Regions from separate parts of the Homo sapiens genome. Here region 1 is linked to region 2. The links are contacts of gene promoters, found by promoter capture Hi-C in blood cells and fetal thymus (Javierre and others, 2016). All regions are on one chromosome and are shown on one strand. Each heading gives the region's core, a stretch centred on a gene start or on the middle of the fragment in contact. The rest is flanking DNA. Distances are from core to core; before and after follow the strand shown. Region 1 holds the start of CELA2A (chymotrypsin like elastase 2A). Region 2 holds the start of FHAD1-AS1 (FHAD1 antisense RNA 1).

The links. Contacts are between HindIII fragments. The CHiCAGO score rates a contact against its expected background, and 5 or more counts as called.
Region 1: a contact is called between the fragment with the promoter of CELA2A here and the fragment with the promoter of FHAD1-AS1 in region 2, in 13 of 17 cell types (neutrophils, total B cells, monocytes and 10 more). The highest score is 12.6, in neutrophils.

What each region holds. Positions count from the first base shown.
Region 1 is chr1:15,454,570-15,461,554 of GRCh38, reverse strand. CELA2A (chymotrypsin like elastase 2A) reads right to left here and starts at 4,823. Exons shown (of 8, transcript NM_033440.3): 1 at 4,762-4,823; 2 at 4,381-4,469. The coding sequence starts at 4,801. The HindIII fragment of the contact is 8,750 bases long and covers 1-6,985 here.
Region 2 is chr1:15,342,198-15,348,565 of GRCh38, reverse strand. It overlaps FHAD1-AS1 (FHAD1 antisense RNA 1), which reads left to right and starts at 4,683. Exons shown (of 2, transcript NR_148919.1): 1 at 4,683-4,790. FHAD1 (forkhead associated phosphopeptide binding domain 1) reads right to left here. Exons shown (of 34, transcript NM_001391957.1): 17 at 3,376-3,483; 18 at 3,043-3,150. RefSeq lists an enhancer at 2,574-2,773. The HindIII fragment of the contact is 5,872 bases long and covers 1,247-6,368 here.

The DNA.
Region 1 (6,985 bases), core at 3,574-6,073, 110 kb before region 2:
AGAAGCAAAGGAGCTCTGTGGCTAGGTTTGAAAGAGCAGGGCCTCCCTGCACTCCAGTTTCCCAAGAACGGGGCTGGGACAAGGGTAAGGGGGAGTGAGGCAGTCGCCTCATGTGCACAACTTAAGGCAGCACCCAAAACCTCAGCCATCAAGATAAAAAACGTGTTAATGCAATCTACATGAAAAACAATCAGGCCAGGCATGGTGGCTCATGCTTGTAATCCCAACACTTCGGGAGGCCAAGGAAGGAGGATCACTTGAGCCCAGGAGTTTGAGACCAGCCTGGGCAACATGGTGAAACCCCATCTGATAAGGTTTGGCTGTGTCCCTACCCAAATCTCATCTTGAATTATAGTTCTTATAATCCCCATTTGTCGTGCGAGGGACCTGGTGGGAGGTAATTGAATCATGAGGGTGGTCACCTCCATGCTGTTTTCATGATAGTGAGTAAGTTCTCACAAGATCTGATGGTTTTATAAGGGTCTTTCCCCCACTTTTGCTCGGCACTTCTCCCTGCTACCGCTGCGTGAACAAGGATGTGTTTCCTTTCCCTTCTGCCATGATTATAAGTTTCCTGAGGCCTCCCCAGCCACGCTGAGCTATGAGTCAGTTAAACCTCTTTCCTTTATAAATTACCCAGTCTCAGATATGTCTTTATTAGCCGTGTGAGGCAGGACTAAATACATTGTCTCTACAACAAAAATAGCCCAAAATGAGCCGCTGGGTGCGGCGGTGCATGCCTATAGTCCCGGTTACTCAGAAGGCTGAGGTGGGAGTATTGCTTGAACCCAGGAGTTTGTGAACCAGCCTGGGCACCATAGTGAGAACTTGACCCTACCAAAAAAATTTTAAAATAAAATAAAATTAACAGAGTGAGACCAGGTCTTTAAAAAAAAAAAAAAAGAACTTTAAGGTGGTGACATTTGACACTGTTTTAGTCTCTAATGAAGCTGTTCCATGCCCTTCCTGTTCCTTCATTCCTCCTCCCCTGTCTTTCAATTCCCTGCCACGGCCAAGCAGAGGGGAGGGAGGTGACAGTAGGGCATGGACTGCTCTGATCGGGCTCCCTATAACTGTGGGGAACGATGACCTGTTTGTTGGCAGATGCCTGCTTTTCTCTGAACGTTGTTGTTTTTAATTAGCCATTTGGCATTTCTCGTTTGTGTGACATTAAGAGGTCTTAAAAAAGATGTTTAAAATTAGAAAAAGTGAAAAAAGATACTTAAAAGGATGTACCCCCCCCCCAATTTAAAAATGTGCTGAAACCATCGTACAGATGTGAAATTTAGCCCACATAATACGTATTATGTGTGGCCAGCAAAGTGTAGCTAAAGAGGTAGCACTGAACCAGATTTGAATCCTCATTCGCCCCCCGGGCTAACCCAGTGCCTTTGGGGAATTCTGTAACCTTTCCAAGTCCCAGTTGCCTTCTCTGGAAATGGGGAACATAAGCCACTGTGCAGGGCTCTCAGGGTGACTCATACTGTAATTAAGCCTGGGTGACAGAATGAGACTCTGTCTCCTGGAGAAGAAACAAAATTGCATTAAAATATCATTCATCTTCGTTAGTGAGGTTTTTTGTTTGTTTGTATTTTTTTTTTTTTTTTGAGATGGCTATCTATGTTGCCCATGCTGGTCTCAAACTCTTGGGCTCAAGCAATCCTCCTGCCTCAGCCCCTTGAATAGCTGGGATTAAAGGTGTGTGCCACTGTTCCTGGCTGGTTGCTGAGTTTTGTGCTACCCCCTTACATTTTGCCTCCAGAGTGAATGTCTTACTTGCCTCATCTGAGTCCCCACCCAGCTAGATCTGCCTTATTTCCGCAGGGAAACAGAAGCACAAAGCATAGGGACTCTTCATGGATTAACATTCACTGGTTCTCAAGGCAAGAATACTTTTGTGCAAGAGGGTGAGGAAGTATTTTTGTAGGCAGCAATGATTAGTTCTTAGCACAAATGCGCCCGGTGTTATGGGGCCCTGTAGCAGAGGGACTGTGGCCCTTCTTCCAAATTCTCAGGGAAAAAATACTGTGGGACTGTGAGAAAAGCAAAAGAACTGGCAAAAGCACACAAAGCCAAGTATATAAATTGTGAGGCTGGGTTGAGAGGCTCACGCCTGTGATCCCAGCACTTTGGGAGGCCGACGCAGGAGGATCACTTGAGCCCAGAAGTTCAAGACCAGCCTGGGCAACATAGTGAGACCCATCTCTAAAAAAAAAAAAAGAAACTTAACCGGGTGTGGGGGCATGCACCTGTGGTCTCAGCTGATAGGGAGGCTGAGGTGGGAGGATCGCTTGAGCCTAGGAGTTCGAGGCCGCTGTGAGCCATGTTTCACCAGCCACTGTACTCCAGCCTGGGTGACAGAATGTGACACTGTCTCAAAAAAAAAAAAAAATTACTATGGGTGAGCACAGTGGTGGGTGCCTGTAATCCCAGCACTTTGGGAGGCTGAGGCAGGTAGATGGCCAGAGCCCAGGAGTTGGAGGCTGCAGTGAGCTATGATTGTGCCACTGCACTCCAGCCTGGGTGACAGAGCAAGACTCTGTCTCAAAAAAAGAAAAAAATGTGAAATATCTGCCATCATTCTATCGTTGACAGTCTTTTTTTTTTTTTTTTTTTTTTTTTTTTTTTTTTTTTTTTTTTTTTTTTATGGATCTCACTCTGTCACCCAGGCTGGAGTGCAGAGGTGTGATCTTGGCTCACCGCAACCTGCGCCTCCCAGGTTCAAGCGATTCTTGTGCCTCAGCCTCCCAAGTAGCTGGGACTACAGGTGCCCGCCACCATGCCTGGCTAATTTTTGTATTTTTAGTAGAGGCAGAGTTTCACCATGTTGGCCAGGCTGGTCTCAAACTCCTGACCTCAGGTGATCCACCTGCCTCGGCCTGCCAAAGTGCTGGGATTACAGGCATGAGCCACCACGCCTGGCCTATCATTGACAGTCTCTTAATCAAGGAGCAGATGAATGAACGCTGGCCTCTCTAAACACAGTGACTGCTGCATGGGTCACTCTGAATGCTCAAGGCTAGTGGGCTGCTAGTTGCTCCTCCTACTTAAGGTAGAAACTCATCCTGATTCAGCTGGGTTTGCTCCCAAAGCAGTTTATATCAATTATGCTTGTAATAATGAAATTTGATTAAACATGTAACCAATGAAATATGAGTTCAGAAAGAGAGTCGTTATTTATATGGAAACAAAGTTAAATGCTTGGAAGAGACTGGATCACCATGACTCTTAAAAAATTGCTCTTGAAGTAGTGTCTGTGAGAAAATGGAAAGATTGGATGGGCTCATAACTCAGATTGCTTTGTGAACGTCTCAAAGTTACTGCTCTGCTTTAAAGAAACGGGTTTGTAGATAAGATATGGGGCATGGCTTATATGAAAAAGACAGTTAAGAACTCAAAAAATTGTTTACATAGTCTAAGATAAAATCTTTACTATATATATATGATTTAAAATAATTTCTTTATAACCAACTTTTCAATTACTCGGTCCCAATTACATCAGATAAATGAGATTTCACTATATTTGTTTATGTCAATGTAAACTTTACACATTTCTCTTAAAATCCCCACCATTAACACGTCTGAGTAATTTACACCTGTGCCCCACTTGGCAGTTTAGTCTTGATACCACTATGATTATATCAACTTAAGAAAACATTTTTTTCATTGGTAACATTGATTTGCCTGTGGTTAAAGATTAATCTGCGCAAATAGCACTGATTGGTTCCTTAAAGCAAGGAATGTTTGCATAGGTAGTCTTGAATGGTTCCTAGACTGATGGTACATTTGTAAACAAGCCTCTGATTGGTTAATAGAGTAATACTATATTTGCTGCCTATGGGCAGTGGGGAGGGGACAGCTCCTTACTGCAGCTGGAGGAGGCACCTCTCCCTCCACTCCCAAGGTTGGCCAAGGCCACAGAAATGTATCTTTTTTTTTTTTTTTGAGACAGAGTCTTGCTTTGTTGCCCAGGCTGGAGTACAGTGGTGCAATTTCAGCTCACTGCAACCTCTGCCTCCTGGGTTCAAGCGATCCTCCTGCCTAAGCCTCCCCAGTTGCTGGGATTACAGGCGTGTGCCACCACACCTGGCTACTTGTGTATTATTAGTAGAGGCAGGTTTCACCATGTTGGCCAGGCTGGTCTCAAACTCCTGACTTCAGGTGATCTGCCCACCACAGCCTCCCACAGTGCTGGGATAACAGGCATGAGCCACTGCGCCCAGCCGGAAATATATCTTATTGCTAAAGTTGCCTGTGCTGCTCTCTGAGTCCCATCAATACTCACTTTGCCAGCACAATAGACGCCATGGTGGAAGGGCAAAGGGGAGATGTAAAGGGAGTGGGGCAGGGACGGGGAGAAGTACAGTGTGGTCAACTCACCTGCCAGGGCCAGCTGTTGGGCCTCGCTTCTTCACCGCCAACCACCCTAGTCACATAAGGTGGGTAAGTGGGGTCCCCACAACTGAGGGCTGTGAAAAGAGAAAGGGTCTTGAGTCAGGAAGCAGCGACCCACACAATGTAAACTACACTTGCTGCGCATTCTGACCCCCCAAATAGAAAACCCTTGTTCTAGAAGGATCCCAAGAGGTCATAGAATCCTGCTCTTTGCTCCAATTCTTTGAAACTCCATTCCAATGTTCTTATGATTATAGGTCTGAATGCAGTAGGGGTTGGGTGGGGGCGAGAGGGGAGGACAGGAAGATCCCATTTCCAGCCCCACCAGGGCATGGGAAACCAGTGCCTCTGGGTAACAGGACTTACCTCCAGCCACCAAAGTGGACAGCAGCAGCGTCCTTATCATGGTGTGTCCGTGGGAGTTCTGTAAGCGTGGCCCTGGATAAGGCCCTGGTTTTATGAGCGGACTTATCAGTGAGAGATACAGTAAGAGCACGCAAGATGGGGTTTTCTCAAAGCCCAGTGGAAAAAAGAGCTGTGTCCAAATATTTTTTTTTTCCCATTTCCTCCCAAATGTCACCCTAGAAATACTTTGAAAAAGATGCCAAAGGTAGATATTGGAATATGGGTTCCATCTGTTTTGAAGAGATTATGTTGTGTGTTAGGGAAGGAAGAAAAATACTAATTGTTGGTGCTCGGAGTTGTTTTTTTTTTTGTTTGTTTGTTTTTGTTCCCCTCCCTGGGTAAGACTGAGGAGAGGAGTTGTGTTTTCTTTCTTTCTTTCTTTCTTTTTTCTTTCTGAGATGGAGTCTTGCTCTGTCACCCAGGCTGGAATGAAGTGGCGTGATCTCAGCTCACTGCAACCTCTGCCTCCTGGGTTCAAGCAATTCCCCTGCTTCAGCCTCCCTAGTAGTTGGGATTACAGGTGTGTGCCACCATTGCTGGCTAATTTTTGTATTTTTAGTAGAGACGGGGGGTCTCATCATGTTGGCCAGGCTGGTGTCGAACTCCTGGCCTCAAGTGATCTGCTCGCCTCGGCCTCCCAAAGTGCTAGGATTACAGGCTGAGCCACCATGCCCGGCCAGGAGTTGTGTTTTCAATGAAAAGATTAAGGTGGCATGCTGAGCCCACAGCATTCTAAGGCAGTATTTCTCAATGGGGCTGGTTCAGCCCACCAGGAGACGTTTGACAACATCTGGAGAGAATTTTGGTTGTCATGGCTGGGGTTGATGTAAATTGGCATCCAGTGGGCAGGGAGCAGAGAGCAGAGACGCTGCTAAACACCCGACAATGCACTGGGCAATAGGACTCGCCCTGCCCCAAATGTCAATGGTGCTGAGACTGAGAAAGCCTGTTCTAGGCCATACCAGGGGTTGCAATGTGACCTTGGCTGAGTCATGTAAGTCTCTAGACCCATCTGTGAAACAGGGAGAGAAACCCATGCCCAGTATTGTTTCACAACATTGTGGTAAGGATTTGTATAATGTGGGGAAGGTGCACATGTAGCAGAATTTGCATAATGCGGGGAAGGTGCACATGTAGCAGAAGGCAAGGCCGACATGCACAATTAGGATCTGGCCACTCTAATGATGGGGGGAAGCAGAACGCTGGCAGAGGAGGGCTTCATCTGGTGGATGAAAATGCACTTTACGGCCGGGCACGGTGGCTCACTCCTATAATCCCAGAACTTTGGGAGGCTGATGCGGGCAGACCACCTGAGGCCAGGAGTTCAAGACCAGCCTGGCCAACATGGTGAAACCCCGTCTCTACTAAAAATACAAAAATTAGTAGCGTGTGGGGCTGCATGCCTGTAGTCCCAGCTACTCAGGAGGCTGAGGCAGGATAACCTCTCGAACCTTGGAGGTGGAGGTTGCAGTGAGCTGAGATCGCACCACTGCACTTTAGTTTGGGCAACAGAGCAAGACTCCATCTCAAAAAAAAAAAAAAAAAAGACCAGCTCCACACTCTTAAGACTTGATATCAAGTGTTTTTTTTTTTTTTTTTTTTTTTTTTTTTTTTTTTTTTTTGAGACGGAGTCTCGCTCTGTCACTCAGGCTAGGGCGTAGTGGCGCGATCTCGGCTCACTGCTACCTCTGCTTCTCAAGTTCAAGTGATTCTTCTGCCTCAGCCTCCCTAGTAGCTGGGACTACAGGCACCGGCCACCACACCCGACTTATTTTTGTATTTTTAGTAGAGACGGGGTTTCACCATATTGGCCAGGCTGGTCTTGAACTCCTCACCTCGTGTTCGTCCGCCTCGGCCTCCCAAAGTGCTGGGATTACAGGCATGAACCACCGCGCCCAGCCGAGTTCAAGTCTTTGATCCATCAATTTTGAGTGTGGTGGTCTGGACAAGCCACTTATCTTCTGGGCCTTACTTTCCTAGATAACCATCCAGGCCTGGATTGCAGGATTGTTGTACGGGTAAGAAAATGGGTGGGAAAGAATTCTGCAATCTCCCTAGGATGGTGCAAAGGTGAGAAAGATTGGGTGGGGGGCAGCATCCCATGGGACTGGATGTCAGAAGATGTAGATTCCAGTCCCAACTCCATCCCATAATCCCTGTAACAGTTTGGACTCATTTGTGGTCT
Region 2 (6,368 bases), core at 3,434-5,933:
CTAATGAGCCACGATACACCAATTTCTAGAAGGGACAAGCAATGTTCTGGTAGGATGTAGGGAAGAAAGTGTGGCCAGTATTTAGTGGCCCTAATCAAGGAGTTTTGTCTGGGAAGTTACTTGCTGGTAAGCTATTCAACTAAACAGCTTAATGCAAATCACCAAAGGAAATACACTGCCAGCCTGTTTCCAGTCACCATGAGAAGGGCCACCTCTATTTTCTAACGGCTTGTCTTTCAAACACGAGGTTCACTGTCAGGCATTTAGAACTTGGAACATGGTTTCCATTATAACCACTGGTTAGGGCCCCAGATGAGCCTGTAAAAAGTGTTTAATCCAGAATATGGCTGAGATATTGTATACTTTGCAGTGAAAAGTAGTTGACAAAACTCTAACACTCTGCTGTCCCAACACCAGCCTTAAAGCAGAAGAAAAGTGACATCATAAGAATTTCACGTTTATTTGGATCCTTTGAAGTGGGTTTCAGGGTAGGACATTTTCCTGTGAATTGTAAAAGAGACTTTGAGGCACTTCCTAGGGACTTAGGGTTGGCTCTGCTGTGTCTGACTCTGCGTCTACACTCGCCAGGCCTTCCTCTGGGTGGCTTCTCTGCAGTCGGGACAGGTACTATTGGTAAGAGAGGCCTTGCCTGGCTCACACACAGGCCCTACATGCTCAGTTGCTGTGCTTCCAAGTTCACAACAGATAATGGGGATTAACTTTGAACATGACCTCAAGACCCAGATTATGACCTAGTGATTCTGTTGACCTTAAAAACCCTGATGATGTGGCGGAAGATCTAATGAAAAGAAAATCAGGCCGGGAGCGGTGGCTCACGCCTGTAATCCCAGCACTTTGGGAGGCCAAGGCAGGCAGATCACTTGAGGCCAGGAGTTCAAGAGCAGCCTGGCCAACGTGGTGAAACCCCGTCTGTACTAGAAATACAAAAAATTAGCCAGGCATGGTGGTGCACCTGTAGTCCCAGCTACTTGGGAGGCTGAGGCATGAGAATCGTTTGAACCCGGGAGGCAGAGGTTGCAGTGAACCAAGATCATGCCGCTGCACTCCAGCCTGGGAGACAGAAAAAAAGAAAATCAAATAGCCACTGGCAGTTGAATGGAGCCTGTGGCTGGGGCTGCTCTTTCAAATTCCCCCGATAGGAAGCCACAGAGAAGTTCTGTCAGAAGTAGGCTGACATTTTAACAGACGCGGGGTGACCCAACCACAGATCCTCTGCAATGAAGCTTGAATTTATCTCCTGAGCCCCGTGGCCTCAAAGTCTCTAAATTCAAGAATCTTCCCCAGGCTTTTGCTGTTGACATCTTGGGGCATTTGACTCAAGTAACTCTTTGGAGACCCTCCTCCTCATCCCCACCCCTGGAGAAATCACTTGGGGGCAAACCTCAGTGACGCTCTGTGAGAGGGCTGCAGGGCACACCTGTGCCAGAGACGCCAAGGGAGAACCGACATGTAAACGTCTCTCTGTCCTGGGTCAGATCAAATGGCACAGGCTTTGCCCAGAGGTCTTTTTGTTTCTCCTGCAGCAGTGGGTGGGCAAGGATTTTACTCAAGGAGTCAGTGTTGAAGAAAAACAAATGCCCAAACAGAAGAAGAGGCACAAGTGGCAGCAGAGACAGTAGTAACAGCTGCCGTTTACTCGGCAATCATTCCGCAGGCCAGGCCCTCCATTATACACTAGATCTGAGCCCACAGCCGCCCCTTCGAGAAGGGAGGCAGCGGTAGGTCTGCTGCAGCCAGGAAGTAGCCCAGCTCGGATTTGAACTTGTGTCTCATCTGGCTGCAAAGCCCGCACTCCTCTGTGCTGTGTCAGGATTGAGGAATTCATGAAAGCAGATGTGAAAAAGGATCAGGGATCTGAGGGTGACCACAAGCTAAACATGAATCCACAAATGTGACAGAGCTTTCCCAAAAGCTAGTTTGGATGCATTAACAGAAGTAGAATATCTTCAATGCGGGAGGGAGGAGTCCTCCCCTAGGCTACCGTGGCTGGAGAACAGTGGTTCTGGCCACCTCCCTTTAGGAAGAAAATGGGTGATGGGTGACAAACTCAATGCCTATGAAGCCCGGACAGATACCAAAAATGACGTGGGCTGTGTTTAATGCAACGGGGAGTGGTGAGGACTCTGGCAAACTGCTGCTACCCGGTAAGGCTTCTAGTCCATTTTTGCTAAGTAGAAACAAGGGCTAGATTTTCTGACTTTTCGGGAGAGGCTGGAAATCTGAACTTTTAAATAGATTTTATGAATTCAAAGTAAAATATTCCGGGGCCAAATATAACTTCCACAGGCCCTTTTTAGTCGCTGAGCTACCAGTCTGTGACTTCTGGAGAGCAGCACAGGCCACAGGAGGCAGCCAGGGCCAGGCTCTAGTCCTGTGAGGGACCTGAGGAACAAGGGCGCTTGGGCCCGGGGAGGAGCAGACACAGGGTGCGGGCGCCCCTGTTTTCACACATCTGAGTCATCATGTGGAAGAGGAAGTAGATGTATCTTGTGGGAGCGCAGGGGAGGGCGGAGGACTGATACTCCTCCGGGGCGTAAGAGTTTGACACAACTCAACCTAAAGGGAAAACTTTCTGTCGGCCTGAGGCATCCATGCTGGGACGGACTGTCCTGGGGTGGAGAACATTCCTTAGTGGTGGTGCTGAAGGCTGGAGGCTTTTAGGATGCTGGTGGAGGGTCCACGCAGCCCTGAGGTCCCATGACTCTGTCATTCTCCCGTTTCTGTGCTTTGGAACACAGAAGACGCCCATGTCACCATTCCTACTTGTCTCCCAAGCGCTCTCTCTCTCTGACTGTGTTTTACACTGTTTACAATTTTTTCCCAACTGGTTGTCAAGGCTACAACTCCAGGGTTCCCTCCTTGAGTCTCCCACGCTTCCCAAAGTAGCTGAGCCCACCCAAACGCAAACTCCACGAGGAAGGCTCCACCACGATCTCACCCCCATCATCGCCGCTCTGAACTTCCTTCCACATGGCCCTCAAGCCGACTGGGGCTCAGCCGACTCTATCTCCCCGAGCGTACCTCCTTCTGGCGGGCCAAGCGTTCCTCCAGCTCTTGGACTCTTGTCTGCTCTTCCTCTAATGCTTCCTTCACTCTGTTCTTCTCCTGGGTAATGCTTTTCGCCAAAGCCTGAGTCAACGATCATTGTTCAATAGACATGGTTACCATGGGAGGAAACTGGACTCTGCCAGGCACCGCACAGGTTTCCTCTTCCCTCCAGACTACACCTCCCTAGGGGACTGTGGACAGCACAGCCCTGGAGCTCAGAGCCGGCGGGCCCAGACCAGAGCCCCAGATCCACCCTTCCTAGCTGCAGTGGGGCTCGAGCTGACTCTGTCTCCCTGAGCCACATACCTTCTTCTGCTGGGCCAGGAGGCTCTCCAGTTCTTGCATTCTCTTCCGTTCTTCCTCTAAAGTCTCTTTCGCTCTGTTTCTCTCTTGAGTAATGTACTCCTCCAAAGCCTGGAAACCAATGACCATTGTTTAACAGACATGGTTACCATGGCAGGAATTTGGACGCTGCCAGGCACTGCATGTGCTACCTCTTCACTCCTCACCGCACTCCCCTGGGGAGGCTGTGGGCAGCAGAGCCTAGGAGCTCAGAGCATGTGCTCTGGAGTCAGGAGACCCAGGGTAGAGCCCCAGGTTGATCCTTTCCAGCTGTAAGGCACTGGGGAAGTGAAGCTACCAGAGCCTCAGTTTCCCTGCCTGTACAACGGAGACAGTAATAGTCTTCCTGTGTTGGGTTGATGTGAGGGGTGGATGCGACGATGAACACGAAATGCTTGGCACAGTGATAACCATGCTTCCCACCTTGCAGAGGAGGAAACAGGCTTACATTCAAGAATCCACCCAGTTTACTAGTAAATCACAAGAGGAGGGATTCTAACTCTGACCCATTTGATTCTGAAGCCTGTGTTCTAAACCAGAGGTTAGCAAACTATGGCTTACAGACCAAATCTGGTCTGTTTTTGTAAATAAAGTTTTATTGGAACACTGTGCTTGCTGTGTATTGTCTATGGCTGCTTTTGCAGAAGAGCAGAGAGCATATGACCTGCAAAACTGAAAATATTTACTATCTGGCTCTTTATGGGACAATTTGGCCAATCCCTGATCTAACCCATTGGTGTGTGCACAAACCAAGGGATTGTTGTCAACAACTGGCAATAAGAAAAGAATGTTAGATTGATAAAGGAACATAGAATTTTTTTTCCCTTTGAAACAAAGTCCTCAAACAAGTCAAGATTCATGAGATTAATGACCCTGGACACATGTATTTTCGGAAAGGGCAGGTGATGGGAGTCAGAAGGTCTAAGGAAGGCTCATTTAGTCAGGACACTTGGCACTGAAGTCCAAGAGGTAACTTTCCAAGGAGTCCCCAGGGTCAAGTCCATCAATCCGAGTATCAGAGGAAGGGCGACCTTCGAGTGTCACAGTCTGTCTGGCAGGGACCTGATGTTGCTTCCTCCCTCTGCAAGGAGGGTAGGGTGCACCGAGGTTTTCAGGTTTAAAAGAGGGGCTGACGCCAGCTCTTAAAACACTCTGCCAGGCCAGTGTCGCCAGGGTTGTCTAGGAAGACTAGGCAGGCGCCCAACGCAGTGTTTAACATGGTGGGGCTGAAATACCAAACCCTGACAAGGGAAAAAGTCCATCCAAAATTAAAAAGAGAAAATAAGGCATTTGGGATGCCGATGTTAAAAGGAGAAGGTAATCAGAGAAGAAAAAAGGAAGTCGGTGGAGAGTTCTGCGAAGATTTTGAAGATTTCTAGGTACTTTCTGGTTTTATTTTCTTCTCTATGGAACGGTGCTGGCTTTTTCCGTATCTAAATGCCCTTCAAAATGTGCCCATCTTGATTTATAGCTATCATTAATATTACCTTTATGCGGATTGCACATGATTTGGTCAGATGGCTCTTCTTTTTTAATCTTTTATTTCGCAAATGCAGAAAAGCAGAGAAAGAGGCAAAGAGAAGAAGGAGGAGGAGACTGATGTTTTGGGGTAACTGGACACACATGTGAGGATGGAGATGAAAGAGGGAGAGGTCTGGAGGGCAGGTGTGTGTGGTAGAGAAGGAGCTGGGGAAAGATGGAGAAGGGGGCAGGTCCAGTACTCTTCCGGGGAAGAGAGGAGATATCTGGGAAGAGTTGGGGTCCGGTGGATCTGGGGGGCTGCTGTCTTGAGGGGGCTGTGAGGAGGGGCAGCATGCACACGCTGCTCCACACCCACCCACAACAGTGGCTCGCAACCGTGGCTGCACTTTGCGACCACCCGGGAGTGCTTAGAAATCCCACAGCAGGGGCCACACCCTCACCCCACTAAGATCAGAATGTGGAGAGTCGGCGGGGAGAGGTGCAAGGCATTAGTAATTTTTAATCTCCTAAATGACAAAAGTCATAAAGACAGTGAAATTCATGGGAGGGGTCCCTGAATATCAAAAAGGGCCAACCCTCAGGTATGGTGGCTCATACCTGTAATCCCAGAACTTTTGGAGGCTGAGGTGGGAGGATCACTTGATGCCAGGAGTCTGAGACCAGCCTGGGCAACATAGAGAGAGACCTCATTTCTACAAAAAATAAAAATATTAGCTGGGTGTGGTGGTGTGTGCCTGTGGTCCCAGCTACTTGAGAGACTGAGGTGGGAGGGTCACTTGAGCCCAGGAGTTCAAGACCAGCCTGGGCAACATTGCAAGATCCCATCTCTACAAAAAAAAATAATAATTAGCTGGGTGTAGTGCCATATGCCTGTGGTCCCAGCTACTTGGGAGGCTGAGGTGGGAGGACCACTGCAGCCTGGGAGTTCGAGGCTGTGGTGAGCTATGGTCACACTATTGCACTCCAGCCTGGGCAACAGAGCAAGACCCCATCTTAAGAAAAAAAAGGGCCAACTCTAGGACAGTGATGAGAATCAGCTCATTAAATAATACAGTTTCCTGGCCCTCTCCAGATGTTCTGATTTAATGGGTCTGGAGGGTGGAGACCAAGATCTGCATTTTTAGCAAAGCATCTGGATGGTTCTTATCAGGAAACTTTGGGAAAACCTTCCTCTAAGCCTTCGCCCTAAGAAAATGTGGATCTGCAGACTGGTAGCGTCAGTACCATCTGGGAGCTTGTTGAAAATGTAGCGTCTCAGGCCTGCTGAGACAGAATCTGCATCTTAACCAGATCCCCAGACAATTCATGGGCACGTTCGAGTTTTAGAGATGCTGCTATCTTCTAACTGGCTTGATTTCTAGAAAAGTCAGTAGCAATTTTGACCATTTGTTTCCCCCGATATGTATAAAGAGAAAGCAAAAGACTGAAATTTGTCATCTGAAGTTGATCTTGCGCACATTTAGAAACAGTCTGTC